Linked DNA regions of Homo sapiens: region 1 is linked to region 2. The links are contacts of gene promoters, found by promoter capture Hi-C in human tissues and cell types (Jung and others, 2019). All regions are on one chromosome and are shown on one strand. Each heading gives the region's core, a stretch centred on a gene start or on the middle of the fragment in contact. The rest is flanking DNA. Distances are from core to core; before and after follow the strand shown.

Evidence for each region. The method cuts DNA at HindIII sites, captures the fragments that hold promoters and counts their contacts. A contact is called where the count stands out against the background at its distance.
Region 1: a contact is called between a fragment that was not itself captured here and the fragment with the promoter of C3orf20 in region 2, in 1 of the 25 tissues and cell types used here (ovary).

What each region holds. Positions count from the first base shown.
Region 1 is chr3:14,710,832-14,713,847 of GRCh38, forward strand. All of the region lies in intron 7 of C3orf20 (chromosome 3 open reading frame 20), which reads left to right. Among named protein-coding and RNA genes, the nearest start is that of C3orf20, 37 kb to the left of the region's middle. The HindIII fragment of the contact is 7,145 bases long and covers 1-3,016 here.
Region 2 is chr3:14,673,415-14,676,566 of GRCh38, forward strand. It overlaps C3orf20 (chromosome 3 open reading frame 20), which reads left to right and starts at 1,727. Exons shown (of 17, transcript NM_032137.5): 1 at 1,727-1,838. RefSeq lists an enhancer at 239-288. The HindIII fragment of the contact is 10,656 bases long and covers 1-3,152 here.

The DNA.
Region 1 (3,016 bases), core at 508-3,007, 37 kb after region 2:
ATGTTTCTGTTAGTTCTAGTTGGTTTGCAGTGTTGTTCAAGTCCTCTATTTCTTTCTTTCTTTTTCTTTTTTTTTTTTTTGAGGTGGAATCTCACTGTGTCACCCAGACTGGGGTGCAGTGGCGCAATCTTGGCTGGCTGCAACCTCTGCCTCCCGAGTTCAAGTGATTCTCCTGCCTCAGCCTCCTGAGTAGCTGGGATTACAGGTGTGCACCACCATGCCTGGCTAAACTTTTTTGTATTTTTAGTGGAGATGGGGTTTCACCATGTTGGCCAGGCTGGTCTCAAAACTCCTGAACTCAGGTGATCCATCCGCCTTGGCCTCCCAAAGTGCTGGGATTGCAGGCGTGAGCTACTGCAAGCGGCCTAAGTCCTCTATTTCTTTATTGATCTTCTGTCTAGTTGTTCTATCCATTATTGAACATGAGGTAGTGAAGTCTCCAACTATTTTTGTAGAACTATTTCTTCCTTTAATTCTGTCAGTTTTTAAATTTATATATATTGAGGCTCTGTTATTAGGTGTGTATATCTCTATAATTGTTACATATTCTTAAGGCATTCACCCTTTTCTCAATATGTAATGTCCTTCTTTGTCACTTGTAAAAATGTTTAACTTAACATCTATTTTGCATGGTTTTAGTATATTCACCCCTACTGTCTTTTGGTTACAATTTGCATAGAATATCTTTTTCTATCATTTCACTTTCAACCAAGTTGTGTCTTTGGATCTAAAGTGAGTCTCTTAGACACGGCATATGGTTGAATTGTTTTGGTTTTTAAAAATTTATCCTGCCAGCTTTTTTTTTTTTTTTTTTTTTTTTTTGAGACTGAGTCTCGCTCTATTGCCCAGGCTGGAGTGCAGTGGTGCAATCTTGGCTCGTTGCAACCTCCACCTCCTGGGCTCAAGCAATTCTCATGCCTCAGCTCTGGCCTTTTTGATTAGAGAGTTTAATCTATTTCTGTTTAAATTGCTGATACAGAAGGACTTAATTCTTTAGTTTTTCTATTTGTTTTCTATATGTCGTATACCATCTTTGTTTCTCAGTTCCTTCATTACTTCCACTTTTTGTGTCTGACTTTTTGTAGCATGCCATTTTGATTTACTTCTCATTTCCTTTTCTCCATATTTTTAAGTTATTTCCCTAGGGTTGTCTTGGTATAATGGGTTAAATGGTGTCTCTCAAAATTTGTAACCACATGGAACCTCAGAATATTACCACATTTGGAAATAGGGGCTCTGAAGATGTAATTTTTAAGATGCAGTCATATTCTTGGGGTGGGCCCTACTGCAATGACTGGTGTCCTTATAAGAAGAGAAAACAGACACACACACGCACACACACGCGCGCGCGCACACACACACACACACACACACACACACACACAGAAGAAAGCTATGTGGTGACTGAGGCAGAGATTGAAATGATGCATGTACAATCCAAAGAATACCAAAGATTTCTGGCAACCACCAGAAACTACAAGGGGCAAGGAAGGATTCTTCCCCAGAGCCTTCCAAAGCATAACCCTGTTGACACCTTGATCTTGGACGTTCAGCCTCTGGAACTGTAAGATTATAAATTTATGTTGCTTTTAGCCATCCAGTTTATCGTACTTTGTTATGATAGCCCTAGGAAACTAATTTACCTGTGTATTACAGTTAACACACTAGTTTGAATTAATAACTTAGTCACAATAATATATAAAACTCTGCTCCTATATAGCTGTATCCCTCCCCCTTTATGTTGTTATCAGAGAATAATGTTTTATAGATACATTGTGTGCCCATTAACATAGGTTTACAATTACTGTTTTATGCATTTATCTTTCAAATCATATAGGAAAAAAAGAAAAATTATATGCTGAAAATACAATACTGGATTTTATATTTACTTATATAGTTAACTTTACCAGTGTTCTTTTTTCTTTGTATGAATTTGAGTCACTGTCTAGTGTCCTTTCATTTCAGCCTGAAGGATTCCCTTCAGCATTTTTTTGCAGGGCAGGTCTACTAGTGATTAACTTCCTCAATATTTGTTTATCTGGGAATATTTTAATTTCTTCATTTTTGAAGAATAATTTTGCTTGATATAGAATTGTTGGTCAAAGTTTTATTTTTTTCCTTCGAGGTCTTTAGATATTTCATATTGCTGCCTTCTTAACCCCATGGTTTCTGATGAGAAATCAGCCATTAATCTTATTGAAGTTCTCTTATATAAGATTAATCTCTTTTTTCTTGCTGCTTTCAAGATTCCCTCTTTGTATCTGTCTTTTGACAGTTGAATTATAATGTGTCTCAATGAGAATATCTTTGAATTTATCCTACTTGGAGTTTGCTAAGCTTCTTGAACATGTATATTATTGTCTTTCATCAAATTTGGGGAGTTTTCAGCCATTATTTCTTTAGATATTCCTTCTACCCTAATTTCTCTTGTCTCTCCTTCTGGGACTCCTATTATTCATATGTTGGTATGCTTGATGGCCTCCCACAGGTCCCTGAGAATCTTCATTTTTCTTCATTTCCTTTTCTTTCTGCTTTCATTCTGAAATGCTTCTGTGTCTGGAGTACTGCTTGTGAAATTCCTGCACACAGGACAGTAGCTGCCCACACCATGTCCTCCTTAGTCAGGACCAGGGCTTCTTGGGGCCTCTTTACTAGAAAATGAACAAGGCGACATTACCTGTACTCCTTGATTGGTCAGAAGTGGGAGCAGCCTGATAGCATTAGAAATATTGCTGGCCTCAGAGATCAAATCCTGGCTCTAGCCACTTCCTTGTGATGTGACATGGGGCAGATAATTTTCTGCACTTTGGATTCCTCATCTAGGGTGACCAACTCATCCTGGTTTGCCTGGGACTTTTTAGGTTTTATACTGAAAGTTCCACGTCTCAGGAAACCCATTAGACCCAGGGGGACCCTACTCATCTGTGAGAGGAAGATAATACTACCTACCACAAGGTGGTTGTGAGAAAATAGAAGATACAGAAAAGCAGCTAGGTCATCGTTGGGTTCCATAATC
Region 2 (3,152 bases), core at 477-2,976:
GAACCCAGGAGGCGGAGCTTGCAGTAAGCCAAGATCGCGCCACTGCACTCTAGCCTGGGCAACAAGAGCAAGGCTGTGTCTCAAAAAAAAAAAAAAAAACAATGAATAGACAAAGAAAGATGGAAAGAGGATGTGTGTGTAACCCAGAGCAGAAGGACTTGAGGCTGACTGTGGAGTAGAAAGGAGAAGGGAGACAGAGACAAGGCAGGCAGCAGGAAGAGCTGTAGGTGTGGGAGCCAGCATCACAAAGGGTCCATCCCAGGTGACCACATCCATGCCTGCAGCACCCGGGTGGACGGCGAAGCAGTTATGCTCGTTGGCTCATGGTCACTGTTATCTGAAGATAACTGTGAGTCACATTTTCTCTGGGATTTCAAAAACTAAATAAACCTATTTATAATCCCCTCTTAACAGTATAATTTAGTTCAGTGTTTTGTGAGCCCTTTTCTGTTTCAGATCCAGTTCTTTGAGTATTGACACACCATCACAGTCTTACTGTGACACGGGCCTGTCTTGTACCAGTGTATCCAGCAGATGGCATTAGAATTCTTAAATGTCAGCTCCATACTCTTAAAACAGCACACTCCAACAGAAATAAAAAATAAATCTGTGGCGCATGCCTGTAATCCCAGCTACTTGGGAGGCTGAGGCAGGAGAATCGCTGGAGCCTGGGAGGTGGAGGTTGCCGTGAGCTGAGATTGCGCCATTGCACTTCAGCCTGGGCAACGAGTGAAACTCCGTCTCAAAATTAAAAAAAAAAAAATAAGCCCAGAGTGTCATTTTCAATTTTCTAGCAACCATATTTAAAAAGTGAAATTATAACATATTTTATTTAACTCAGCATATCCAAAATATTTCAATATGTACTCAATATATGCAAATTATTAGTGAGATCTAAAATTATTCTTCACACTAAGAATTCAAAACTCACTGTGTATCTGGTTATAGCATAATTTGGATGCTAACGTTTCATCAGGAATACTTGATCTGTATTTAGATTTTGTAAAATATGCAGTTGAAAAACACAAATTCATATCCAAGTTGTTCCAAAGATAGTTAAACATAGTAAAGTTTTTCAGTAACTGAATTGAACATCAAGTTTGAAAAAATAAAACCCAGTTCCTTAGTCATGCTAACCTTATTTCAGGTGCTCAAAGGGCCCATGCATCTAGTGCTGCTGTCCTGGACAGAGCGGCTCTAAGTGATCTGCTTTTACACGCTTTATGGTCCGACTATACATAATCCTCCCATTAGTAACTAAAGTATTGGCCAATAAATTTTTCCCAGGCATACATTAAACATTCACAATACTCTGTGGCCATGTTTAACTTGGGAGCAAGTAGTGGCAAAACCTCCTATACAAAAACGTGACCACACCTCATTCATGCCTTTGTAGAGCTAAGCAAAATGCTTTAGATCAAAAATTGCCTTGAATTATTTACGTTCATTGTAATCTCTCCTCTAGGCCTTTGTGTGTTTTGATAGAGTTCGTTTGAATTGGCTCAATAAATCATTTTATTTGCTGCAGAATTCCCAAAGAACATTCAGATCCATATACATGAGATTCCTGCTGCGTTTAGCCATACATTTGCCAGACTTGTGATGTCGTTTATTCCCTGTGAAAGCTCAAGTGCAGCCCACAGGGAGGTTTTCAGCTGACCTTGTTGTGACATGCAGATGAGGTAGTAGAGTTTAGAATTTGGAACGGGGATGGGTACTGGTCTTTACAGTTAACACAACCTGGAGTAGCCCATGCCATACTGTGTCCTTTTAAGTCAGTAAATTGAACTAAGTCGGTTATTCGGCAAGCAGTTCCTATAAAAAACTACATGGCTAAGGTGAGTGATGATCACTGAAAGGAATTCATTGACCCACTGAAAAAATGAGAGTAGATGAAACTACTGCAGTCATCCTGCCTGCCCCTGTTAGCTGGCTGAGTGAGGTGTTTTGCCCCGGTGGGCTGTGGACATTATCTTCATGTTTAAAGTGTGTGTACTGGGGGCGAGAGGCCAGGAATGATATGATGGGTGTAGGTCATTGTCTAGGAAAACTAGAAAATCCAAATGTTCAAAGGAAGTAAGGTGTTGTAGTGAAAAGCTGTCACCTGGCCTATCGATGTTCTGTTATGGTGTTTCTTAGTAAATCCCAGGCTGCATCTATATAGTCACTCATAGTAAGTGTGTGTTTGTCCAGTGGTAGGAGTGGCCAGAAATATTGCATCTGTTCCACCCTCAATTGAAACAGCTTCTTTCTCCACTGTATTTCTTTTGTTTTTGTTATTTATTTATTTATTTATTTATTTTTGGAGATGGAGTCCCGCTCTGCTGCCTAGGCTGGAGTGCAGTGGCTCACTGCAACCTCCACTCCCCGGGTTCAAGTGATTCTCCTGCCTCAGCCTCCCGAGTAGCTGGGATTACAGGCATGCACCACCACGTCCAGCTAATTTTTGTATTTTTAGTAGAAATGGGGTTTCACCCATGTTGGCCAGGCTGGTCTCGAGCTCCTGACCTCAGATGATCTATCTGCCTCATCCTCCCAAAGTGCTGGGATGACGGGTGTGAGCCACTGCACCCGGCCCTCCACTACATTTCTAATTGCCACATTCTCCCTAAGTCTGAAAGCTCACATGCTTAGTAACAGTTTGGCCAGGTTTTAAGCATTTTCTGTGGGGTGTACTGCATTCCTTCCCCCTCCCCCCCGCCTTTTTTTTTTTGGTCATTATTCCCTGCGGTTGAACAGAGCACCTCCCCGCACCCCACCCCACACCAGCCTCTCCATGCACAGCCATAGTTGTTCACGGTTTTTGAAAATCAAAAAATACAAGAGTGGACCTTGCTCCCAGCCCAGGTCTCCCAGGTTGCAAGTGAGTCTGGTAACTGTGCCACTGTCTTTGCTGGGAACCCAGGTTTTATTGCTTTTCCAAAAATAATCACCTTTTCCTTAAAAAGAAAAGGCTTTGTATCTCTGTGTCCAACTTATGATCTGCACAGGTTTCCATGGAATGTGTAATCAGTGTATACACACCATTTGGTTCTTCTTTCTTTAACATTTCTAAAACCGAGCTTCCTAGTTATTTTTAATTGTTGCCTAATAGTTCATCAGCTTAATGTACATCATTATTTCACTATAGGGAATGAAGTGGCTATAAGCAT